Regions from separate parts of the Homo sapiens genome. Here all the other regions are linked to region 1. The links are contacts of gene promoters, found by promoter capture Hi-C in blood cells and fetal thymus (Javierre and others, 2016). All regions are on one chromosome and are shown on one strand. Each heading gives the region's core, a stretch centred on a gene start or on the middle of the fragment in contact. The rest is flanking DNA. Distances are from core to core; before and after follow the strand shown. Region 1 holds the start of MIOS (meiosis regulator for oocyte development). Region 2 overlaps ICA1-AS1 (ICA1 antisense RNA 1). Region 3 overlaps ICA1-AS1 (ICA1 antisense RNA 1). Region 4 overlaps ICA1 (islet cell autoantigen 1). Region 5 overlaps ICA1 (islet cell autoantigen 1). Region 6 overlaps ICA1 (islet cell autoantigen 1). Region 7 overlaps ICA1 (islet cell autoantigen 1).

Region 1 (3,696 bases), core at 552-3,051:
GTGCAAATTCTAGCTAATAGTTTTAATTTTCTTTTCTGAAGTAGGAGGCAGTGTCATCTCCTGAGTGCAAGCAGAAAAGTTGTCCTCAACTATGTATAGTAGGAGTGGATAAGGAAGAGATTTGTATTGATCTGAGGTTTTGTGTGGGGGTTTGAGGCCAGGGTCAAAACCACTGAGAAGATTGGCAAGATAGTGTTTGAAGTGATGAATACTGTCATGTCTCCTCTCAGTAATACAGCACTTTCTTCAGCCTACATTCTTCTAATGGCAGGATTGGAAAGGCAATACTTTCCCCAAACTCATCATCTTATCAAAACCATCTGCCACCAAGATCATCAGGACTAAGCTCATTATGCTGTTTACAGCCATCACCACCACAAGCCCAAGACCACCCACTTTTAATCATGAACAGACAAGCAAAGACTGTCAGACATCTGAAGACTGCCTCGAGGTCAGACTCGTGACACCTGAGGCAGCACCATTCACTCAGTTTTGGGAACAAAAAACTTGGAATCCTCTTTCACCGTCATTCACTTGGTCAGTCACCAAGCTCTGTTCATCCCGCCTTCTAAGTATTCCCCAGGGCCCCCACTTCTCTCCATGCCCACTCTCCGTGCCACTGGTAACCTGCGTTTCTATCATCCCTCATTCTGATACTCTATCCCTCCAGCTCTCTGCGCAAAAACTGATCATACTGGCCGGGCACAGTGGCTCATGCCTGTAATCCCAGCACTTTGGGAGACCGAGGTGGGCGCATCACGAGGTCAAGAAATGAGACCACCCTCGCCAACATGGTGAAACCCCATCTCTCCTAAAAATACAAAAAATTACCTGGGCGTGGTGGCGCGCGCCTGTAGTCCCAGCTACTCGAGGTGCTGAGGCAGGAGAATCGCTTGAACCCGGGAGGCGGAGGTTGCAGTGAGGAGAGATCGCGCCATTGCATTCCAGCCTGGCGATATAGCCAGACTCCGTCTCAAAAAAAACAAAACAAAACAAAAAACTGATCATACCACTTGCCTGATTAAAAACTTTCGATGACTCTAACATTGCCTTTAGGTAAATGCCATCCAAACTCACTAAACTGGTTTCCAACCCGTTTCTGAAAGCACCTTAATCTCTCCCCACTTCCTCTGCTCATTCATCCATACCTACTGCCTCCTCACTGCTATGTCCTCTCTCCTGACCCGGCACTTGCTCTTTCCCAGTCCTAGAAGGCTCTTCTCTTCCAGTTCCCACTGCCCTTTTCCCTTTCCTGGCTAATCCCATACTCATCCTTCTTGTCTCAACCTAGTGGTCCTTAAGGAAGCTTTGCTGACCCCCGACACCGAGCGGGCGTCCCTCCTGTGTAGCACTGTGTTAGCCCTACCAAGTCAAGGCTCTCCTTGCCTGTTTCCTGCCGGAACCATGTCTTTTTACTTCACTCCTGTCTCCTCAGCATTCCAGCACAGTGCTGGGTACATAACAGGTGCTCAAGACAAGTTTGTGGAATGACTAATGAGTGAATAAATCATTAACCAAACACCTTGGATCTCCTACTACATCATTTGCAAAAAAAAAAAAATGTTTAATAGAAATTAAAATGGACCCAGTGAGCTAGAGTGTGTGACCCTGCTTAAAAACGACAGAGTGGTTCTGAGAAGCAGTCCCAGCCTAGGAACCCGGGGATCCGGCCTGTGGACCCACGGGCAGGGCCTGCGGGGTGCACCGGCGCTTTCGGGCGGAAGGCGGGGCCTCCCGGCCAGTGACCCCGCCCCGAGGCGCCTCCCGGGCGGGGAAGGGCGGGGCTCGCGCTGGGAAACTCCCCTTCCAAGGCCGAGGCGCCGCTGCGCGTCCTCCAGGCGTGGTGGTGGGGTCGTGGGTCCCAGCCCAGTGGTCCAGGTCACGGGCCGCACGGCCGCGGCCGCCATCTTGCCCGCGTCCGGGCTCCTGCGGCGGGCGGGGCGGTGTCCCGGCCGGAAGCGGCTGTGCGGCGGCCGCGCTGCCACCTCAGGTCAGTGAGCGCGACCCGGTTCGCGTCTCGACTCTCGGGAGCGCCGCGGCCGCAGCGAGGGGCCGGAGATAGCCTAGTTGAAAGGCCCGGGCGTCTCGGCGGGGAGCGCGTTCCGCGCTGTAGGGTAATCGCGCCGGGCGGCCGGCCGCCTGGCCGGGCCTCAGCGGGAGCCACCGGGGGCTGCGGGCGGCCGTGGGACCTGCGGAGACCTCCTCGGGGCGCAGGGAACACGCTACAGCCTTCGCCGCGGCGGGCTTGTGGGGAGCGGCGTCCCAGCCTTTCCCGGGAGGCTCAGCCAGGTGCCTGGAGCGGGAGAGTCGGACTCAGATTCCTGCTTTACCTAGAATAGCAACGTGCCCTGTTCCCGTTGTACCCTCTTAAATACTATACTTCTTAAACGGCCTGTCTCCCGGTGAGCTCTGTTCTCTTCTCATATGAGTAATGAAAATTAAGAGGATGAATGAAACCTCACACATGTTGTGGACTTTGCTGAATAGGTTAGCAAATGACTGCAGGCCTTTTGTATATTTTAAGGGAAATTTGGATATGTGCAGTGCATCTCCTCGAAGATGCTGATGGTGGAAATTTCTTGAAACCGCTCTCGTAATTTGCCACGGTAAGAAAAGTAAAAGACAACATCAAAAAGCATGTGGTTGGATCCTTTGTACACTGAGTAGTATTTTAATGTGTTGGACTTCACTGTCCAGTAGCCACATGGGATTGAGATGTGCTATAAGTGTAAAATACACATCGGATTTCCCAGAGTTGGTGCCAAAAAAACGTAAAAATCCTCAATAATTTTTGCATTGATTACATATTGAAAGGATAATGCTGTTGATATGTTGGCTAAATAAAATGTGTTTTTAAATTTCATTCCACCTAATTTTACTTTTTAAATGTGGCTACTAGAAATTTTTAAATCATATGGCTCACACTGTATTTCTTTTGGACAGTGCTGTTGCAAATATTCTGGTGAATGAACACAGAATCAGCATGGCTTTCCTTTGCTGAGAAATCACTGATGGGAAGTGAGACTTGTTAAACTTGAAAGGTGAGGATATAAATACAAGCTGTAATTATTGCAGACCGCACCCCTTCTACACCTAATTTTTTAATGTCTCCAAAATTTGGAAAAAACATTAACTTTCAGGGCTGATTAAGGGAATGGTAGTAATACTAACATCTGTGTGATGTGAAGAGCTCATTTCAGTTGATTGTCACAGCTTTGTGAGATGGAAATGGGATAGATTTTATCTCGGTTTTATGGTTTTGGAGTATTACAAGATTTGTTAGGATCTGAGCTGGGGAGTGGCTGTAGGATTTCTGACTCTAGATTGTTTTCTTTACACCAGATTCTTGGTGATGTATGTTCATGAGCAAGGAACTGTTTATCCTGTATATTACATGGTGAAAAAAAATACACTTCTTAAAAGGGTGGACATAGATGCACCTCTCTATACAGGGCTACTCTTATGATGTGCAACCTGTGCAGTAGCACAGAGCCCAGCATTTAGAATGGCTAGCACTTAGTTTAATGGCCAGTCTGCTGTCACTGTCTGGACATTGTAAATAATTTTTAAATGAGGGGCCCTGCATTGTTATTTTGCACCACGTCCTGCATATCGTGTAGCTGATCCTTTTCTTTGCAGTAATCTAGGACGGAAGTTGAGAGACCTTGGATAACCACCCAAACATCTGGTCTTCAC
Region 2 (3,696 bases), core at 321-2,820, 730 kb after region 1:
CAATCTTCATTTTGTTTGTCATAATTTCTTGGTTTCCCTTTGATGGTGGTGAGGTCCTTACCCCTGCTTTCTGAATCCTAGTTCTCTTGTCTCCCACAACTCTAATTTTTTATACATAAATGAATACATAAGCAAGTGTACTTTTATGAAATGCATACTATTTCCCTCTCACATTTAAATTCTCAATTTGTGATGTGTAGAATCTTAATATTTCCTTTAGTGCAGAGTGACCGGCACCTCCAGTTTAATCCTTCTCCAAAATGGTTAACTCAGAATTCTCACCATTCCCAGTCTCGGTCTCCACCATGGTGCTTTAATTCTCTTTTTTTCAATACTATTTAAAAGTATCATCATTGGCCGGGTGTGGTGGCTCACGCCTGCAATCCCAGCACTTTGGGAGGCCGAGGCAGGCAGCCACCTGAGGTCAGGAGTTTGAGACCAGCCTGGCCAACATGGTGAAACCCCATCTCTGTTAAAAGTAAATAAATAAATAAATAAAAATACAAAAATTAGCCGGGCGTGGTGGCACACACCTGTAATCTCAGCTACTTAGCAGGCTGAGCCAAGAGAATTGCTTGAACCTGGGAGGCAGAGGTTGCAATGAGTAGAGATTGTGCCACTCACTCCAGACTGGGCGAAAGAGTGAGACTCCGTCTCAAAAAAAAAAAAAAATTATCATCATTATTATCTTGTCTGTTCCTGGTTCTTTCCTTACTATGTAAGAGAAGCAACCCAAGTCGCAGTGCATTTAAATGCTTTTCCTAAGGCTCTAGTAAGGGCAGTTAGAAATGGAAGCCGGAACTTTAGATGGTCTGGAGCGTGGTCTGGAGTCTTTACAACACACCCAAACTATCCGCACACATGGAAGGGTGAGAACCTCCCTATCCAATTCCTTTGCATCAGCTCCTCCTTCCTTTATTGTCTATGGCTTCTGGGACGATTGTGAATAAGAGAGTGATCCAACAACAGAATGTGGAGACAACCTCTCTCCCCTCTGTAGCTGTGTCCACTTTGGCTTTTGATACAGGGAGTAGAGTCACAGACAGGCATGTATTCACTTTAGTTTCCCTAGGAACGCAGACAGGTGGTTCAGACAGAAATCAGAATTATTTATACATGACTGTAGGAAAATATTTATTCAGGGAACTCTGACCATTTTATGCTTGAATCATTTATATTCTCTACTATTTAGAGCTGCAGTTGGCCTTGCTATCATTTATTTATTTGTACATTGAGTCAGTGAAGATAAATTTTCTTAATTTTTTTTTCCTTTTTTTTTATTTTATTTATTTATTTATTTTTATTATTATACTTTAAGTTTTAGGGTACATGTGCACATTGTGCAGGTTAGTTACATATGTATACATGTGCCATGCTGGTGCGCTGCACCCACTAACTCGTCATCTAGCATTAGGTATATCTCCCAATGCTATCCCTCCCCCCTCCCCCAACCCCACAACAGTCCCCAGAGTGTGATGTTCCCCTTCCTGTGTCCATGTGATCTCATTGTTCAATTCCCACCTATGAGTGAGAATATGCGGTGTTTGGTTTTTTGTTCTTGCGATAGTTTACTGAGAATGATGGTTTCCAATTTCATCCATGTCCCTACAAAGGACATGAACTCATCATTTTTTATGGCTGCATAGTATTCCATGGTATATATGTGCCACATTTTCTTAATCCAGTCTATCATTGTTGGACATTTGGGTTGGTTCCAAGTCTTTGCTATTGTGAATAATGCCGCAGTAAACATACATGTGCATGTGTCTTTATAGCAGCATGATTTATAGTCCTTTGGGTATATACCCAGTAATGGGATGGCTGGGTCAAAAGGTATTTCTAGTTCTAGATCCATGAGGAATCGCCACACTGACTTCCACAATGGTTGAACTAGTTTACAGTCCCACCAACAGTGTAAAAGTTGTTCATATTTCTCCACATCCTCTCCAGCACCTGTTGTTTCCTGACTTTTTAATGATTGCCATTCTAACTGGTATGAGATGGTATCTCATTGTGGTTTTGATTTGCATTTTTCTGATGGCCAGTGATGGTGAGCATTTTTTCATGTGTTTTTTGGCTGCATAAATGTCTTCTTTTGAGAAGTGTCTGTTCATGTCCTTTGCCCACTTTTTGATGGGGTTGTTTGTTTTTTTCTTGTAAATTTGGGTTCACTGTAGATTCTGGATATTAGCCCTTTGTCAGATGAGTAGGTTGCGAAAATTTTCTCCCATTTTGTAGGTTGCCTGTTCACTCTGATGGTAGTTTCTTTTGCTGTGCAGAAGCTCTTTAGTTTAATTAGATCCCATTTGTCAATTTTGGCTTTGGTTGCCATTGCTTTTGGTGTTTTAGACATGAAGTCCTTGCCCATGCCTATGTCCTGAATGGTAATGCCTAGGTTTTCTTCTAGGGTTTTTATGGTTTTAGGTCTAACATTTAAGTCTTTAATCCATCTTGAATTGATTTTTGTATAAGGTGTAAGGAAGGGATCCAGTTTCAGCTTTCTACATATGGCTAGCCAGTTTTCCCAGCACCATTTATTAAATAGGGAATCCTTTCCCCATTGCTTGTTTTTCTCAGGTTTGTCAAAGATCAGATAGTTGTAGATATGCGGCGTTACTTCTGAGGGCTCTGTTCTGTTCCATTGATCTATATCTCTGTTTTGGTACCAGTACCATGCTGTTTTGGTTACTGTAGCCTTGTAGTATAGTTTGAAGTCGGGTAGTGTGATGCCTCCAGCTTTGTTCTTTTGGCTTAGGATTGACTTGGTGATGCGGGCTCTTTTTTGGTTCCATATAAACTTTAAAGTAGTTTTTTCCAATTCTGTGAAGAAAGGCATAGGTAGCTTGATGGGGATGGCATTGAATCTGTAAATTACCTTGGGCAGTATGGCCATTTTCACGATATTGATTCTTCCTACCCATGAGCATGGAATGTTCTTCCATTTGTTTGTATCCTCTTTTATTTCCTTGAGCAGCGGTTTGTAGTTCTCCTTGAAGAGGTCCTTCACATCCCTTGTAAGTTGGATTCGTAGGTATTTTTTTCTCTTTGAAGCAATTGTGAATGGGAGTTCACTCATGATTTGGCTCTCTGTTTGTCTGTTGTTGGTGTGTAGGAATGCTTGTGATTTTTGCACATTGATTTTGTATCCTGAGACTTTGCTGAAGTTGCTTATCAGCTTAAGGAGATTTTGGGCTGAGACAGTGGGGTTTTCTAGATATACAATCATGTCATCTGCAAACAGGGACAATTTGACTTCCTCTTTTCCTAATTGAATACCCTTTATTTCCTTCTCCTGCCTAATTGCCCTGGCCAGAACTTCCAACACTATGTTGAATAGGAGTGGTGCGAGAGGGCATCCCTGTCTTGTGCCAGTTTTCAAAGGGAATGCTTCCAGTTTTTGCCCATTCAGTATGATATTGGCTGTGGGTTTGTCATAGATAGCTCTTATTATTTTGAAATATGTCCCATCAATACCTAATTTATTGAGAGTTTTTAGCATGAAAGGTTGTTGAATTTTGTCAAAGGCCTTCTCTGCCTCTATTGAGATAATCATGTAGTTTTTGTCTTTGGCTCTGTTTATATGCTGGATTACATTTATTGATTTGCGTATATTGAACCAGCCTTGCATCCCAGGGATGAAGCCCACTTGATCATGGTGGATAAGCTTTTTGATGTGCTGCTGGATTCGGTTTGCCA
Region 3 (3,696 bases), core at 373-2,872, 710 kb after region 1:
AGGTCTTTGAAGGCAAAGACTCTGCCCAGCTTGTGTGTTCCCTTACACATCCACCATAGTGCCTTGAATGTACAATGTTAGGTGTTTAATCAAAGTGTGTTGAATTAATGGATGAGTGAATAGTTTGTATACAACTAGACCCTCTGAGGGTGGGGTGTTAATTCTCTTGGCTGTGTTTTGATAAAGTCTCTCCATTAATTCTTAGCCATTTTTCAAACCAAACTTTGATACTCAATACTACTATTTTATAATACTACATGGTCTGATATTCTCTATTATAGATTTTCCAAATTTACTTTATCCCCCAAATCAGGTAAACACTTGTGAAATATGTACACTCACCAGGCTCCTTCGAAATCAGATTTTTTTTTTGTACAATTTATGGGGTACATGTGCCATTTTGTTACATTCATGGATTGTGTAGTAGTCAAGTCAGGGTTTTTAGGGTACCCATGACCAGAATAACGTGCCCATTAATTAATTTCTCATCATCTGCCCCCTTTCCACCCTCTCACCCTTCCCAGTGTTCATTGCCTATCATTCCACTATGTCTATGTGTACACAATTTTAGCACCCATTTATGGCTGGGAACATGCAATTCCAAATAGAAAACTTTGGTAGAGGGACCTGAGATTCTACATTTTTGACAACTAACTCAGCTGATTCTTATGGCCAGAAGAATCTGAAAACCCTTCTCTATCGTAAAATTCAATGGGTATTAGTTGAGGATAATTATTATATTTGAGCTTTATGTCAAATATAATTCTATGAGTATTAATTTGATGTCAAAACACCTGAACTCCAGTTTCATTCACTACCATCTAGGTGATTGGAGGCTAGTCTAGTTTTTCCCCAACTCTCCGCACATTAGAATCAAAGGGTATCTTTTAAAAATCCCAAAACTTAGGCCACACCCAGACCAACTAAATCTCAATCTTTAGGGCTGCCACACAGACATGAGTACTCTTTGAAGCTCCCCAGGTGGTTCCAACATGCAGACAAGTTTGGAACAGCTGGGATAATCATCTACCCTCTCTAAGCCAGTTTTTTCATATATAAAATGTGCTAATAACTCCCCTCCTAAAATATAATGAAGAGTTAATCTAATTAATGCATGTGAATATACTTTATACATGACAAAACTCCGTATAAACCTAACACATTCTATTTTAGGCTTCAAATATTTTATTTATATTTTTAAATGTATTATAAAGACAGGGTCTTGCTCTCACCCAGGCTAGAGTGCAGTGGCATGATCATAGCTCACTGCAGGATCGAACTCCCCGGGCTCAAGTGCTCCACCTCAGCCTCCTGAGTAGGTAGGACTACAGATCCGCACCCATATGCCTGGCTAATTTTTAAATTTTTTATAGAGATGGGGCCTTGCTATATTACCCAGACTGGTCTCAAACTCCCGGCTCAAGTCATTCTTCTGCCTAGGCATAAGCCACTGCACCCAGCCCAAATTTTTTTTTTTTTTTTTGAGATGGAGTCTCGCTCTGTCGCCCAGGCTGGAATGCAGTGGCACAGTCTCGGCTCACTGCAAGCTCCGCCTCCCGGGTTCACACCATTCTCCTGCCTCAGCCTCCCGAGTAGCTGGGACTACAGGTGCCCGCCACCACGCCTGGCTAATTTTTCGTATTTTTAGTAGAGAACGGGGTTTCACCGTGTTAGCCAGATGGTCTCCATCTCCTGACCTCATGATCCACCCGTCTCAGCCTCCCAAAGTGCTGGGATTACAGGCGTGAGCCACCTCTCCCAGTCCTAATATTTTCCATAAAAATTAACAAATGTGCAGTTAGAAATTTTTGTATTTTTCTGTATATTTACATTTTTTATGGTTATCATTGTGTTTGCCAGTTCAACAGATTAGCTTAGATTCAGCTCGCAAAGGAAACTACCATTCCAAAAGCTGTCCTTACAATTTAGGTACATTTCCATCAGGTGGCAGTAGTGTCTTTGTCCTGGTTGAAAGCAGGAGATCTCAGCCCTGCCAGCTATCAAAGTTTTTCTTGGCTGGGCTTTATCCCCAGATATTTTGATTCAATAGGTGTGGAGTGGGACTGTATGTAGCATCTATAAGTTTATAAAGATCAGCATGTGATTCTGATGCCCTGTTGTTAACCACGGTGAGTTTGATATTTCTGGTTAGGCCTTCTGCTATATCTACCAGATTTAGTCATAGACGTTCTACTTTTTAATGTCAAAAATAATCTCTTCATCATGTAAAGCAGAAACAATTTTAGAATAGTTTTTAAAAGTCTTTAAATTCACATAGGTCCCATTTCTTATTTCTACTACTGTTTAATATTTAATCCTACAATTTTTATTTAAAATGTATCTTAATATATACTCAAACCTCCCCAATGACTATGACCACGACTTGCCTTTTTAAAAAGTCAGAGAATATATGATTCCCTCATGGGCGTGAAGCTCTCTCCTTAGGGCAGAGGTTCTTAAACTTCAGTGTGGGCAAGTAGACCTGAGAGGTTCATTAACAATGTGCATTCTATCTTGAACTAATGGATCAATTCTTGGAGTGAGGCCAATAATTGCACATTGTAAGCCATCTCCCCAGGTTATTCTGATACACACCATATTTTGAGAACCACTAACTCTGGCACTGAGAGGCTGGAGCAGCCTGGGTAAGGTAGAGAATACAGAGAGAGGGCTCACAGAGTCCAGGTGCAGATCTGTAAGAAACTGTGTTCCCTTCTTCCTGTGCTTCATCTTTGTGTAAATGGTGATAAGTGTGCTCTTATTCAGGCCATATCTGGCTCAGTAACCCTGAGGAGTTACCAAGTATTGGTTGGTAAGTTTGCAGCAGAAACCTGCCAACTTATGTTGCCAATCTTAGCATGGAACCTGGGACACGCAGTAACTATTTATTGGTTTACACTGAGGCTATCCTCCTCTTCCTCCTCTGTTACCTTTTCTTTCCTCAACGTAACCTCTTCCATCTATTGTCTTTTCTCCCTGTTGTGTTGGTTTGTGATCCACTCTTGAAGAAACACCCATGTAGATCAGATTTAGACACTAAAAAGAAGAAAATATTTTTCTGAAATCCTATCAATAACAGTGAAATCACCCATTCATATTTAAGTTGCAAGAATAGCATGTTTGTTAATTATCTTGGGTTAAGTTTTTTACTATTATGTACAATTGTATTTGGTCTTCTTTAGTTTCATGACTATGCTTTTATTTTGAGCAGTTTACTTTCATTTACTAGCATCTTAATATATACAGCCTGAGTTGTCATCTGCCTTTGATTTCAGATAAACTGTGTTCCTTCTGCAAAATATGCAGCAAATGATTTTCTACTAAAATTTGTTAGGTTGGTAGGAACACATGATAAGCTTGGATCACTGGATTTTCATTTTTGATATTTTATGTCCTAAACACACTTGCAAGTTATTTATCAATGTTTATGTTAAATCAACATCTAATAAGTATTGCCTCAGCATTACTTGAAACCTACAAAATCTTAACAGTAGACTTTAAAACAAAAATGTAGATCATGATAGAAGCTGGCAACTTGATTAATCTCTTTCTAAAGCCTTTACTTAAAACTATAATTATATATGCAGTTCTCTGTCCACTCCCCTGCACCCCACCATAAACAAGTTATATTCCTTATTGTGATTTTGAAAGGAGGACTAACTACAAATGGCTAGATTAACACTATTTATATAAGAG
Region 4 (3,696 bases), core at 380-2,879, 690 kb after region 1:
TTCAAATTCAGCACATCTAAAACTAAACTCCTCTTTCCATCTGCACTCTCAAATTCTTCTTTCTGTGGTCCCTATGTTAATTACCAGCACTAAATGTACTGAATGGCCTAAGTTGAAAACCTCACTTCTTTCTCTTTTTTTTTTTTTTTGGCAGGGTCTTGCTCTGTTGCCCAGGCTGGAGTGCAGTGGCACAATCATGACTCACTGCAGCCCTGACCTGCTGGGCTCAAGCAATCCTCTTACTTAGCCTACCAAGTAGCTGGGACTACAGGCACATACCACCACACCCAGCTAATTTTTTAAATTGTTGGTAGAGATGAGTTCTCACTATGTTGCCCAGGCTGGTCTCAAACACTTGAGTTCAAGCAATCCTCTTGCCCTGGTCTCCCAAAGTGCTAGGATCACAGACATGAGCCACCACACCCAGCCTCTTTCATCTTTTGCAACCAGTCTCCAGGTTCTCTCCATTCTACCTCTTAAAAAGCGATTGAATGCATCTTATCTTTTCTATCTTCACAGCTTAGGCCTTAAGAGGCAATGCTATCTGTGTACCTGTCCATTCCAATCTTTACAACACTGCCCGACCTATCACTATATGATGCAAATCAAATTTTTCCACTCTCCTACTTAAAATGTTTTAATTGCTTTCTCTTGCCACTAGAGAAATTCCAAACATTTTTTGAAAAAACACAGGCCCCTTTACATCCTGGCTCCCTTCCCCCCAAATCTTACTCTCCTCCCCACCCTCCGATAGAACTATTCCCTCTGCGCATGTCAGAACGCTTGAGCTTCCCTGAATATACTATGCACTTCAAGGACTTGAGATGATTCTTTCCACTTGGAATGCCCTCCCCCTCCTTTGTCTGATTGCCTAACTTAGAATTTACATCAAGACTCTCCTCAAATGTTGCCTCTTCAGTGAAGTATTCCCAACTCAACATCTCGTCTCTATCCCTCTCCCCATGGGTCTTGCACTCCAGACCTCCCCACTGAAGAGTTAACTGCTCCATACTGGTGGTGCCACTGCACTCCTGTACTCTCCTTCAAGGAGCTAATTACATCTGTATCTCCTGCACTAGACTGTAGGTCCCATGAGTACAGGGACCCTCAAGTTCATCTTTGCCTCCTTAGCACCAAGCATGGCCCCTGGAGCACAGTAGCCATTCAGTACATATGTGCTGGGCAAGGGGCAATAATTATGTTCTACCACTTACCAAGCACTTTACATGTGTGAAGCACTTAACATCATTATGTCATCGCCACACATTATGAAGGGGATATCAACCCATTTTGCAAGTGAGAAACAAAGTTTAGAAGGACGAAGTAATTTACCCAAAGTCAACAACTGGTAAACACAAGTTTACTTTTGACTTCTGAGCTCCTGTTTTTAACTACTCTGCTCTACTCTTGGATGAAAGGAGCTTGATTAATGGGGCTGTTTCAATAAAAACAATCTCCCCCAATCACAGGCTTAGGTGCTGGGTTAGGCCCAAATCCACTGCCAATATAGTGCTACTGTGCACAACAAAACCTGCAATTGCTGATTGATTTCTTCCTTGATAGTTGTCAGGGTTCCTATGACTAAGGAGAGGGGCACTATTTATAAATATCAGCTTCTTGGTTTCTGGCTTAGAATGCTCTACCCTGGAAATATCACAGAGAAGACCGGATTTTCCCCTAGGTACTATTAGGTTTCAGAAACTGATGTCTATGCCCTGTTCTGGGAACAGAGATGTGGCAGTGAGTGTGATCATGATGATGGTAAGAGATGGATTTCAATATGTATACTCTTGGAACATTGTTGCAATACTTAAGAGTCACTTCTTGTACAAATACTTTCACTAACTAGAACCAGAGGACCTTTCTAGTCTCCAATCTAGACTCTTAAAATTAACAATGACTACTATCTATATATTCAGTGGTCCATCACTGAACACATATACCTCATATTTTCCACTCCACAGAACTATATTGCATTCAGTCACCCTCTCTTAATTCATGTATTTTCTGCTAAATGTATTCTAAAATTGAACTCTGCAATGTTCTCTGATTCTAATGACTTTTTAATATTAGTCCCCTATTTTCTACTAATACCTCCACCACCTCCACAACCATGCAACGAATATTTAGAATCAGTCCTGTGCTTACACTAATTAGTGCATCTAATCCTCCTGAATCACAGATGATCAGACTTGTCCAAGGCCACTCAGCTAGTAAGGGACACACATAGACACTGGGCTCCAGACACGAGGACTATTTGTATTAGCATTCTCTCCCTTACTTGTTGACTTTTGTACACACATACACATGGTTGGGAGTGGGGAACGCTCTTTCTCCCCACTCCCAACCCTTATTTACCTGCTGAATTCCTACTGGTTGTTTCAGGCTCAACTCAAGGGCAATCTCCTCCATGAAGCATCTCAGGGTTTCTCTGCCCTTTCTCCTGTTGGGGTGGGATGCCCCCGCCCTGGGCTGCATTACCACCTGTGTCTCTATCTCCTTCTTGCTTTCCCTGAAAGGCAATTGGTTAGTTGACTCCTCTCTTTCCCTCTTTTACTCAGCTGTACGCTCCTCCAGAGCATGGTGGGGTCTGAGTCTTGGGATTCTGAGTGTTTAGCACAGTGTGTAGCTCATGGCACATATACAACCAATGCTTGTTCAATACTAAGTCATCCCACTTCTCTGATTTGGTCAAAGGCCTGATGGATGATGTCATCTGACTTAGCAAGAGAGACAGATGATTCCCATCATGAGTGATGCAGGCCATCATTTCCCCACCTTTTCATGAACTCATTCTAGCTCACTAGGTTTACACTGGGACAAGGAGTTACCACTAATTGAGGAACTGCCACTTCTCAGACACTGGGGTGTATGCTTCACCCACATCACGGAGTATCCTCGCAATACGGCCAAGTTGACATAATGATTTATATTCATTTCACGAAGAAGTTTAAGTTCAGTTATCTTAAGCAACTGGCCTACAGTCACATAGTAGGCAGGCTTTGTTATAAAAACAGGTATAAAATGCCCTATCACATGTAGTCTTCCCTGTCCTGGAGAGATTCATTAGTTATTTGTGAAAATTACTTACAGGTCAAAAAACAAAAACTATGTTAATTTGATGCTATAATACTAAATAGTAAATTGCTAGAATAGTGAAAGTGTGGTCAGCCAGGATTTTTAGAGGCTCCAAGGCAGTTCTACCATATGCATCTATCCAGGGCAAATCATGCCTGCAGTCCTTATCAGACAGATGGAGATTATAATATCTACTTATCTCAAAGGGGGTTGAGTATCACATAAGATCATAGTTGCCAAAGTGCTTTGTGAAGGAAGAGGACAGAGGCTCATTTTAGAGTAGTGTGCTGGACAGTCTGTGGGAGACCCTAGGGATCAGAGCTACCTGAGATGTTGCTTAACAGCAGATGAAGGAAGCTTGACCGGGAATCCACACTTATTTTAACAAGCCCCCAAATGATTCTCTGGGACACTAAAGTTTGAGAAATAACAGGTTACAGCATTGCTTCTCAAATGTTAACATACTCATGGAGATCTTGTTAAAATGGAGATTTGAATTCACTGGGTCTGGAAGAGAGTAGCAGGCACGCTAAGATTTTGCATTTCTAATAAGCTCCCAGGGGAGGCCACATGCTACTGGTCCATGGACCACGTTTGAGTGACAGGGGCTTGGAAGAT
Region 5 (3,696 bases), core at 600-3,099, 670 kb after region 1:
CCCAAATAAAAACCAAAAAAGGGTTGATATGCTTGAATAAGATAGCAAGAAGGGCACAAAGGTGGAAAATAGGTATCTACCAGCCTAGCCTTGTATATTTATCTCGTTAGTAAATACTGGAGTCAATGTCTCTGCCCTTACTCCATTTGCTCCACTCATGGAAGCTAGCCCACCCCAGGGCCCACCAGCCCAGCCACATTAGCCCACTTGCCAGCAGTTACTGGAAAGAACAGAAAGCTCACTACTCAAAGGAATGGTCACTGGCCAGAGGCAAAACCTCTAGCTGCCAGAGTGAGTGCTCACAGCATATGAATGCCCAGACTGCTTCACAAAATCAATCCAATCATTCTCCTTTGGTCTCAGAAAGGATCCTGGCAACCAGTACTCCTAAAGTGATTAAAGCTTTCCTAGGCTATTTAAAAACATTTCAAGGGGACAAAATTACGATGTGCAAATCCCACGCTTCAGGTATGCAGACAAGAGAGAGGAAGAAGAGAATTTCCAGAGTGTCAGATGCCTCTGATATGACAGCATCCTGCAGTGAACATCTCTCTTCCTTGTGGAGAGCATCCAAATATCTGGACGAGCTGCTTTTGGGAATGACATTCAGGGTAAGTAAGTAAGCTCTGCCCTCCACTCAGTGCATCATGGAGAGGCTACCAACACCCAGTCCTCTCACCACCCAGACAGCTTCACTGTAAGTACACATTTACTTTAGTTAGCTTGAAATTTCCAACAAATTTTTTCATAAAAAGAGGGTGTTCAAAGGAAATGGAATTATCATATTCTTCTCTTGAGTTCAATGTCACCATGAACTATTAGGATAGTTGGTACTTTTTGATTAATATTTTTATTATGGTAAAAAAGTTTATTCTTTTAATTTAAAAGTGTACAGTATAGTAGTGCTAACAATATACACTTTGTTGTACAACAGATCTCTAGAACTTTTTCATCTTGCATGATGGAAATTCTACACCCATTGAACAACTCCCCATTTTCCCCTCCCACAGCCCCCAGCAACCACTATTCTAGTTTCTGATTCTATGAATTTGACTACTTTAGATACCTCATAAAAATGCAAACACTCAGTATTTGTGTTCTTGTGATTGGCTTATTTCACTTAGCATAATGCATTTAAGGTTCATCTGTGTTGTAGTATATGACAGGACTTCCTTTTTAAGGCTGAATGATATTGCATTGTATATGCAATGTTGAAGACAGACACACACACACACACACACACACACACACACACCATTTTCTTTAACCATTCATGTGTCAATGGATATTTAGGTTGCTTTCACATCTTGGCTATTGGGAATAATGCTGCAATAAACACAGTATACAGTGTCAAATTCATTGACAGGTTCTTGGAAGCTGCAACTATAGGCAAAGTGATATACACAGGTCCAGAATAACACTGTTTCATAATAATATTGATAAGAAAAAAATGGCTTATGTCGTTTTGCCTAAAGTTGCAGTTTCCAAGAACTATCAATGACATTAAATGAGGTCTTAATGTATCTCTCTGAGATCCTGTATTCAATTCTTTTGCACAAATACACAGAATTTGGACTGCTGGATTATACAGTTCTCTACTTAATTTTTTGAGGAAACTGCCTATTGTTTTCCACAGCAGCTGCACCATTTCAAGCCCACTGATGGTATGCAAGGGTCCCACTTTCTCCACATCCTTGTTAATGTTTGTTTCCATTTTTAAAAATAATAGCCATCCGAAGCATTGTGAGGTGATATCTCATGGTTTTGGTTTACAGTTCTCTGATTAGTGATGTTGTGCATCTTTTCATATTTTTTTGCCATTTGTATATTTTCTTTGGAGAAATGTCTATGCAGGTCTTTTGCCCATTTTTAAATTGGGTCATTTTGTTATTGACCCAACTTAATTTGCAGGAGTTATTGCAGGAGTTCTCTATATATTCCAGATATTGATCCCTTATCCAATATATGGTTTGCAAATATTTTCTCATATTCTGTAGGTTAGCTTTTCACTCTGTTGACTATTTCCTTTACTATGACTTTTTAATTAATTTTTGCTTATTAAAATGCCTTTTAATTTAAATCCTTCATAGTGTAAGTTCTTATAGTATGTGTTATTTATAGTTATAGTTAACAAAAATTGCTGAGCAAATTGCCCCTTCTACCTAGATTTCCAGGCTATTCCCAGATCATGATACCATACGGCAGTGTTCCTCAAGGTATTGTTTAACAGCCACTTGCATTGAAATCTTCCGGGGATACTAATATACAGAATCCTAGACCCCACTCCTTTCCTAGTGAAATAGCATCTCTGAGAATGATTCTGGGAATCTAGTTTTATAATAGGCTTTGCAAGTCATTCTTAAGCACATTAAAGTATGAGAACCACAGCTAAATGGCACACAGGGAAAATATTTTTGGAAATTGGTCTTTCTTGAACAAACTACTGGATCATAGGCACAGGAGCAAAGGAATCATAAGTGGTCAAAATAAGGTCAGCTCTGCAGGGTACATCTGAACGCCTCATGAGAAGGCAGCTGGAGCCAGTGCTAACATCTCTTTTTATATATGTTCTAACTCTACATACCAGAGACAATTAATAAACATCTTAAGATTTCCTGACATAATCTATCTTGTTTTGCTCTATCACTTTCCAAATCCACAGCATTTAAATTGCTACTTTAAAAAATCATTATAATTGTTATCCATTCATTTCAGTTCAACAGTTTGGTTTATCAGACATAAACTGAGCATCAAATGAGTACATGCCAGTCACTCTTCCTGGCCTCAAATATAGATCAGCTCTGTCCAATAGAAATAGACTATGAGCACATTCCAAGACGGCCGAATAGGAATAGCTCCAGTCTGCAGCTCCCAGCGTGGCTGACGCAGAAGATGGGTGATTTCTGCATTTCCAGCTGAGGTACCTGGTTCATCTCATTGGGACTGGTTGACAGTGGGTGCAACCCACAGAGGGTGAGCCGAAACAGGGCAGGGCATCTTCTCACCCAGGAAGTGCAAGGGGTCGGGGGATTTCCCTTTCCAAGCTGAGGGAAGGCATGACAGACTGTACCTGGAAAATCGGGACACTGCCGCCCAAATACTGCACTTTTCCAACAGTCTCAGCAAATGGCACACCAGGAGTTTATATCCCACGCCTGGCTCGGCAGGTCCCATGCCCATGAAGCCTTGCTCACTGCTAGCACAGCAGTCTGAGATAGAACTGCGAGGTGTCAGCCTAGCTGGGGCAGGGGCGTCTGCCATTGCTGAGGCATGAGTAGGTAAACAAAGCGGCCAGGGAAGCTTGAACTGGGCGGAACCCACTGCAGCTCAGCAAGGCCTGTTGCCTCTGTACATTCCACCTCTGGGGGAAGGGCATCGCTGAACAAAAGGCAGCAGAAACTTCTGCAGACTTAAACGTCCCTGTCTGACAGCTCTGAAGAGAGCAGTGGTTCTCCCAGCACTGAGCTCTGAGAATGGACAGACTGCCTCCTCAAGTAGGTCCCTGACCCCCATGTAGCCTAACTGGGAGACACCTCCCAGTAGGGGCTGACAGACACCTTATACAGGTGGGTGCCCCTCTGGGACGAAGCTTCCAGAGGAAGGATCAGGCAGCAATATTTGCTGTTCTGCAATATTTGCTATTCTGCAGCCTCTGCTGGCGATACCCAGGCAAACAGAGTCTGGAGTGGACCTCCA
Region 6 (3,696 bases), core at 440-2,939, 650 kb after region 1:
AACATATGCCCTTTACCCAGCCAAAAAACATTTAAGGCATATTAAACTTTGGATAAAATACTTATCTTGGGGAAAAACACTGCTTCTTCCATCTCCCTACCCAAAAATGAGCAATGTCAGATGAATTATACTCTTAAAATATACTCTTCTTCATGAAGTTTCAGGGCACAGGTGCCAAAAAATGAATATTTAAATTTCAATTTAAATGCAAACTTATTTAGCTAAAGGGAACAATGGTGTCAGTGAACTGAAGTCAGCTTTTGGAAATTCCATCAACGTCTGCAATGCCTTACGTGCGTGTAGCACGGTAAGATTACAAATGGTGCAATGAACTATTTAAGAAAAAATTTCCTTTTACTATTTCCCCTAGTTTTCTTCTTCTCTGTAAAGTATTGTTTTTAAATATTGAGTACTTGTATAAGAATAACCTGCTCACACTGTCCTACCTAGATGTTGCAGATTATTTTCAAAGACATTGTTGTGCCATAAAGTAAGCTTGTTATCCCTGTTGGTTTAATTTAATACTCACCTTTCATCAAATAGAATATATGGCTGTTGCAATGACTACCAAATAAGTCTGTAAAACAAACACTGGTGTGAAGGTTTGTGTAACTGATGACTTCTACTTAAAGACATCAAGAGTCCTCAGCTATCTCCCTAACTATTCTATTCATTTCTAGATTCTTTGTTTCTCTTCCTTTGCCTAAGAATTTTTCTCACTGAAGTTAGTGATAATTATATGTTTAACACATGACAACTTACTCTATGAAATATTTTTTTAGGAATCAATTATTCTTGCAAGGTTGGAAAAGGTCCTATATGCACAGAAAGTATCTATTAAGAGGTTAAAAGTAGATCATTTTATTAGTAAAAATTTTAGTTGCTTTTTAATTTTCACTTTTTGGTTTGTCTCTATTTTAAAATTTTTCTAGAATGAATATGTATTTTTACATAGAAAAATTATAAATAATACTAAATGGTAAGATTTAAGATGATAAACAAATACCTTTCTTGGGAAATGTGTGGAGAACTACTAGAAATGGTTTCATTCAAGCATAAAAGTTGGCATTGCCCCCAAAGTCAGGGTCCAAATGTCATCAGGAAGAACCAAAATGCCCAGGAGAAGGCATCACTGAAAAACAGACACAGCAGGTCTCTTTTTTCCTCCTCTTTCTTGGGTTTTCAAAGGAACAACCATGTACCATGCTGCTGGCCTGCTCTTGGCCCACACGGAGGGAAAGCAGCAAGGAGACATTAACAGAAGAAAATGTTGGACAATTTGAGTAAGTGAAATTTCTATAGCTTGAATATTTGTGGGAACTACCTACATTCTGCCTACTACTAGTGAGTGACATTTTGGGGGTTTGTTAGTTACTGGGAGAGAAGGGAACGAGGAGGAGTGTCACTTTTCTCAGGCGCAGAGAGTGACTGTGTGCAGGGGCTCCTGCTTATTTAACATCCACCATAAAAATGAGTCACGGTTGTGTTAAAAAAAAATGCCACTCATCTACCACAATTTTCCCTGTACCAGAGCTTCGCAAACTTGAATTTACATCAAAACAACAGCGGTCTAGTTAAAATGTGGATGTGGATCCTGCATGTCTGGGGTAGGGCCTACATTCTGCATTTCTAACACACTCCCGGGTTATGGTCCAGGGTCTGAGCAGTGTGGACCTGGGCATGAGAACAGCACCTCTCTGAAGTTAATTGGTCCACAGAGAGCAGAGAGGGAACCCTTCAACCTGGTCTCATTAGGCTCCTGCTTTAATCAGCTGCTGGAAGGGGACCAGACTGATTGCTACAAGCAACACTGAAGGTCAAACATAAGCCTAGGACAGCACTCATAGTGATTGACATATATAATGCCCCTACAGACCAACAGAAAAATGAAAAAAAATTTTTTTTAATTAATAGGGAGGAAAAAAAAATCCTATGTGTTAATCTTAATTAGAGAGTTAAGTACAAACTGCCTAACTAGTGAGTACAGAGCAGCTCCTCAGCCTCAGGCAAAATCCTTCTAAAGAACACTGTGAGATTCCCTTTCGTGAGTAGGTGGGTCCCGGAGTCTCCTCAGATCCCCCCAGATAGAACCCCACTAAAGGCCACACACCTTTGCTGGGAAGAAAAGCAGAGGGCCTTTCCTGTCGCTTGCATCATCTTTCCTGCTCTGGTTTTATCTTGGAAACCTTGGGATCGAAGAAATTTTCCCAGTTCGTTTTCTTCTTGAGACAAGACTGATGAAGAAAAGACCAAAAGGAGCCATGAACAATGAGCATTTTGATTGCAAAGGGAACAAGAAAGACAAATCACAAGGTCCTCTCTCTTCCAGAGGCGAAGACGAGATGAAATTAAATCTAAGCGGCAGGCTACAGGGTAAGCTCCCCCTACCCCCCATTTAACTTTCAGGCTGTTCTTCCATTTACAATACGAGAGATCAAATTCACTTGAATACATCTGTCAGTGAGTTTGGTGCCCTGTAATCAGAACTAGAAAATGACCTCTGTACTGAAACGTAAGCCCATAGTGTGCGGCTTCGAGCTGAAATAAAGGAGTTGGGTTTGTCAAGTATGACTGTGGGAATCTTTTGTGGCTGCCTAGGATGCAGTGCTAGCTGCCTCTCATTATTCTCTCCTGCTGACTTTTGATCTCTGCTTTTTGAGTTACATTCTATTCCATTGTAAAGCAATTCAAATACCTCAGCTGTGACACAGGTTTTTGGTTGGAAGTGGGGGTAGGGACGGAGGGTGGGGAGGTCATCAGGTTGATGACAGTGGGTTTTAAAAATACAGAGCTGGAACCAAATCTGAATTGGTGATGCCTAATCTTGGCCTTATTTTTAAAGACAACCTCAGATGGTATTATTGGTGGGTAAGTGATTTGGTGCAAGCTTTCTGCAGACTGATTTGACGGTAAACATTTAAAAAATCATAGAATTACATGTATCTTTGGACTCTCCATGTCTACTGTTAGGAGAACTTCCTAAGGAAGTAGCAAAATGGGCACAAAGATGTAAATGCAAAAACAATCATAGCATCATTATTTATAATAGTGAAACACTCTCCTTATACTAGGAACTAGTTTAATAAAATACAGCATACCCACATAATGGTACAGTGGGGGTCCTGAACACACACCAGCAGCCAAGCCACAGGCACCAGAGTGACACTTAGCTTCCTCGGATGTGCTTTCCCCCTAAACACAGCATTTACTATCAACATACTTTGAACACTACTTTTATTTCCTATTTCTGTATTGATGTATTTACATACCCTGTGTCTCTAAAACTGCTTTCTAAATGCTACTAGGATTCTTGTCAGCTTTCACAAACCAGTCACTTTTCTTTAAGAATGCACCCCCATTCCTGACATAATCTCACTAACAATAATTGTAGGACATTAGGCAGGAACCACAAATCCAAAGGTGAAGGCTAAACTCGATACTGCTACCTTATTAATTTGTGACTATAGTTTCACCCTAAACATTCCCTTGGGAAGGCCCAGTCAAGAAGAGGCTTTTAGAATCCATTTTTCCTGAGAGATAAATGATGACCCTGCTTCTCTTCTGTCTCTCAAAAATCAAGTTCACCATCAAAGGCCTGCTCGCAGGTTCCTTTCTCTGTGAAGCAATTGATCCCTATTTCTCCGGACAGCAGTGCTCTCTGGGCACCTGACTTAGCACTCACCTTGTGTGACTGGG
Region 7 (3,696 bases), core at 673-3,172, 630 kb after region 1:
ACATAGTGAAACCCCATCTCTACTAAAAATACAAAAATTAGCCGGGCATGGCGGTGCGTGCCTGTAGTCCCAGCTACTCGGGAGACTGGGGCAGAAGACTCACTTGAACCCGGGAGGTGGAGGTTGCAGTGATCACACCACTGCACTCCAGCTTAGGCAATAGAGTGGGACTTCGTCTCAGAAAAAAAAAAAAAAAGAAGAAAGAAGAAATAATAATAATAATAATAATAATAATAATAATAATAATAATGGAGTCTTTCTATTAAAGATGAAGGGTGGAAGCCATCCATTTAGCTCTATTCAACCCTGAAAGCCCACCAAAAACTCTAAGGGGGCACAAACGAGAACAAAGAAGATGGGAAAAGAGCTACCACTACTAAACGTTGGAAGCTGGAAAGTAGATAGATGACTTATAACTAAATGAACAGACCCAAGAAAGCTAAATCCAAATCTGGCAATGGAAAAAACCTAAAAACTACCTGGTTAATTCAGAACTCTCAAAGTTTTATGAACTGATGGTTTGGATACCTTTGGAAGTGGAAGTGATAGGATGGAATGGATGTTAGGGAATCAACCGAAAATATATGTTATACATAATGATTTTATCAGAAGAGTATTCCCTATATTTTGGAATGATGTATTTCTATCAACTTTCTTTTGAAAATTAAAATTTCTAAAAGTTGTGTATGTAACAAACAATACAGATTGTGGTATACCACAAGCCAAAATATGGAAGCAGAATACAAGCTAATGGCCTATGGCAGAAAATGTGGTTTGCATAAATGTTACCCATTGTCACAAACATCCACCCATCCTGCGCTGCACACTGTGCTACTTCATGCTCCTTCTCTTGTGGACTTCTATTCTCTTTCTCCAGGTTGAAGGGAAATCATCCACATACCTGCTGAGATGGTATCAACCTCAACCTGTCTCCTAGCAGAGGAGACAATATGAGCAAAGCATTGTTTGGAGAAAATCAAGTAGCTTGATGTTATTGCAACAGAAAATATGAGGCTGAAAATAGTGTGAATTAAAACCCTAGATTTGGACCAGAGTGAAACCACAGAGGGCTTTGTGGGATGTTGAGGAGCTTGAACTCAATCCTGTGGCCTTGGCAGTTACTTTGCAGAGACGTTGATGTGGTTGGATTTGGGTTTCATTTCAGTCACACTGGGGTATGTGGAAGGCAGACTTGAAGCAGGAAGCCAAGCCAGAGACTGGTGGTCCAGGCGAGCGTCATAAGGCCTGAACAAGAGCCGAGATGACAGACTTAAGAAGACATAGATCTGGAAAATATTTGGAAGGTCAAAATATGCTAATCTGATGATTTGTTGGATGTAGGAGGTGTGAGAGAGTAAGGCATCAAGATGTTCTTTAGGTTTCCAGCCTCAGTGACAATAAAGGGAGCAGTTCTGCACAGCAAAGGAAACAACAACGTGAAGAGATGACCCACAGAATGGGAGAAAATAATGTGCAAACTACCTGACAATGGATTAATAACTAGAGTATATAAGAAGCTCAAATAACTCAATAGGAAAAAATCTAATAATCTGATATAAAAGTGGGCAAAAGATTTGAATAGACATTTCTCAAGACACAGAAATGGCAAACAGGCATACAAAAAAGTGCTCAACATCGTTCATCATCAGAGAAATGCAAATCAAAATGACAATGAAAGATCATCTCACCCCAGTTAAAATGGCCTTTATCCAAAAGACAGGCAATAACAAATTCTGGCAAGGATGTGGAGAAAAGGGGAACCCTGATAAATCAGTACAACCATTGTGGAGAACTGTCTGGAGGTTCCTCAGAAAACTAAAAGTAGAGCTACCATATGATCCAACAATCCCACTGCAGGGTATATACCCAAAAGAAAGGAAATCAGTATATCAAAGACATATCTGCACTCCTGTATTTGTTGCAGCAAATACAGGCTCTTGGCTGTTCACTACAGCTATGATTTGGAAGCAACCTAAGTGTCCATCAATAGATGAATGGATAAAGAAAATGTGGTACTTATACACAATAGAGTACTATTCAGCCATAAAAAGAATGAGTTCCTGGCCAGGCATGGTGGCTCACGCCTGTAACCCCAGCACTTTGGGAGGCCAAGGCGGGCGGATCACTTGAGGTCAGGAGTTTGAGACCAGCTTGGCCAACATGGTGAAACCCTGTCTCTACTAAAAAAATAAAAAAAATTAGCCGGGTGTGGTGACAGGTGCCTGTAATCCCAGCTACTCAGGAGGCTGAGGCAGGAGAATTGCCTGAACCCAGGAGGCAGAGGTTGCAGTGAGCCAAGATCATGCCACTGTGCTCCACACTGATGACAGAGCGAGACTCTGTCTCAAAACAAAAACAAAAAACAAAAGAATGAATTCCTGTCGTTTGCAACAACATGGATGGAACTGGAGGTCATTATGTTAAGTGAAATAAGCCAGGCACAGAAAGACAAACATTGCATGTTCTCACTTATTTGTGGAACCTAAACATCAAAACAATTGAACTCATGGAGACAGAGAGTAGGATGGTTACCAGAGGCTGGGAAGGGTAATGGGAAGTGGGAAGGGAAGTCGGGATGGCTAATGGGTACAAAAAAATAGAAAAAATGAGTAAGACCTAGTATGTGATAGCACAACAGGGGGACTACAGTGAATAATAATTTAATTGTACATTTTAAAGTAACTAAAAGAGTATAATTGAATTGTTTATAACACAAAAGATAAATGCTTGAGGAAATGGATACCCCATTTTACACGATGTGATTATTATGCATTGCACGCCTGTATCAAAACATCTCGGGTACCTCATAAATACATATACCTACTATGTACCCACAAAAAATAAAATTTAAAAAATTAAAAAGTACATCAACTGAACATTTATTCAGTTAAAGCATAGTGCCATGTGTTTCCGGGATGACAGAAGTAATTAGGGCTTCTTAAAGTCTTTGAGAACCTTTAGCACAGTTGAGCAAAAAAAAAAAAAAAAAAAAAAGAACAATTACAAAACAATATATTAGAACAATTACAAAGTACTATATTAATGAAAAAGTGAACTCGTGGAAGTTTGGATTTTATGCCAGATTAAAGAAGTGGCCATAAGTTGACATGGAGGAAATAAAGGAACAGATTGACTTCCTGTTTGGGGGACGCAATCATGAAGGGCACGGACATAAGAGCAAGCACATGCCATGTGAAGGTTGACAAGTATGGAAGGGGCCTTGCTGGGAATCAGAGATGAGACCGATGAGGTCTCATGGAAAGGGAGCAAAAAGAACACTTGAATATAGGAAACTGGATTTACTAGACTGTAGTTGACTACTGAAAATCATTTTAGATTCTTCAGTATAATGAAAGAGTTTCATGAAGATTTAAGCCACAGTTATGAATATTAGTTGAGTTTTGAGCTGGTAATCCTGGATCCATCTACTAAATGTCCAGCCAAACAGGATAGTTTCATAATTTATCATTCTTTTCTAATTTCTCACTGTCTATTTCTCAGAAAAGCCATGTCTAGCTTTGGCTCCTTTTGTAACTGTAGACATATTCTGGACTGAAGTGTTTCATGTCTGATCTACTTTTACCACTGCTCTATTCTCTTGATGCCAAAAAACCCCACAAATTTCATTTACTTTAGTGGTCAATGAGTATGGCAGATAAAAACATACTTTCTAGAGTGACAATGCTTGTGTTTTAG

What was found. The method cuts DNA at HindIII sites, captures the fragments that hold promoters and counts their contacts. A CHiCAGO score of 5 or more calls a contact.
Region 2: a fragment that was not itself captured here is called in contact with the fragment with the promoter of MIOS in region 1 in 4 of 17 cell types (erythroblasts, M2 macrophages, fetal thymus and 1 more); the score reaches 9.0 in erythroblasts.
Region 3: a contact is called between a fragment that was not itself captured here and the fragment with the promoter of MIOS in region 1, in 2 of 17 cell types (erythroblasts and fetal thymus). The highest score is 6.0, in erythroblasts.
Region 4: a contact is called between a fragment that was not itself captured here and the fragment with the promoter of MIOS in region 1, in 3 of 17 cell types (erythroblasts, M0 macrophages and M2 macrophages). The highest score is 6.9, in erythroblasts.
Region 5: a fragment that was not itself captured here is called in contact with the fragment with the promoter of MIOS in region 1 in 2 of 17 cell types (erythroblasts and neutrophils); the score reaches 6.7 in erythroblasts.
Region 6: a contact is called between a fragment that was not itself captured here and the fragment with the promoter of MIOS in region 1, in 17 of 17 cell types (total CD4 T cells, naive CD8 T cells, non-activated CD4 T cells and 14 more). The highest score is 21.7, in total CD4 T cells.
Region 7: a fragment that was not itself captured here is called in contact with the fragment with the promoter of MIOS in region 1 in 10 of 17 cell types (activated CD4 T cells, naive CD8 T cells, total B cells and 7 more); the score reaches 9.6 in activated CD4 T cells.

What each region holds. Positions count from the first base shown.
Region 1 is chr7:7,565,083-7,568,778 of GRCh38, forward strand. It overlaps MIOS (meiosis regulator for oocyte development), which reads left to right and starts at 1,802. Exons shown (of 13, transcript NM_019005.4): 1 at 1,802-1,990; 2 at 2,525-2,606; 3 at 2,944-3,041. MIOS-DT (MIOS divergent transcript) reads right to left here and starts at 983. Exons shown (of 5, transcript NR_110084.1): 1 at 832-983. RefSeq lists a silencer at 1,623-2,272 and an enhancer at 2,523-2,592. The HindIII fragment of the contact is 13,372 bases long and covers 1,305-3,696 here.
Region 2 is chr7:8,296,821-8,300,516 of GRCh38, forward strand. The region is part of intron 3 of ICA1-AS1 (ICA1 antisense RNA 1); the gene reads left to right. Among named protein-coding and RNA genes, the nearest start is that of ICA1-AS1, 36 kb to the left of the region's middle. The HindIII fragment of the contact is 4,184 bases long and covers 1-3,662 here.
Region 3 is chr7:8,275,636-8,279,331 of GRCh38, forward strand. The region is part of intron 3 of ICA1-AS1 (ICA1 antisense RNA 1); the gene reads left to right. Among named protein-coding and RNA genes, the nearest start is that of ICA1-AS1, 15 kb to the left of the region's middle. The HindIII fragment of the contact is 3,463 bases long and covers 1-3,354 here.
Region 4 is chr7:8,255,646-8,259,341 of GRCh38, forward strand. All of the region lies in intron 1 of ICA1 (islet cell autoantigen 1), which reads right to left. Among named protein-coding and RNA genes, the nearest start is that of ICA1, 4.7 kb to the right of the region's middle. The HindIII fragment of the contact is 3,608 bases long and covers 1-3,433 here.
Region 5 is chr7:8,236,599-8,240,294 of GRCh38, forward strand. The region is part of intron 1 of ICA1 (islet cell autoantigen 1); the gene reads right to left. Among named protein-coding and RNA genes, the nearest start is that of ICA1, 24 kb to the right of the region's middle. The HindIII fragment of the contact is 2,898 bases long and covers 401-3,298 here.
Region 6 is chr7:8,219,165-8,222,860 of GRCh38, forward strand. ICA1 (islet cell autoantigen 1) reads right to left here. Exons shown (of 14, transcript NM_001136020.3): 5 at 2,111-2,234. Among named protein-coding and RNA genes, the nearest start is that of ICA1, 41 kb to the right of the region's middle. RefSeq lists an enhancer at 2,328-2,884. The HindIII fragment of the contact is 2,392 bases long and covers 494-2,885 here.
Region 7 is chr7:8,197,367-8,201,062 of GRCh38, forward strand. All of the region lies in intron 6 of ICA1 (islet cell autoantigen 1), which reads right to left. Among named protein-coding and RNA genes, the nearest start is that of ICA1, 63 kb to the right of the region's middle. The HindIII fragment of the contact is 4,758 bases long and covers 1-3,696 here.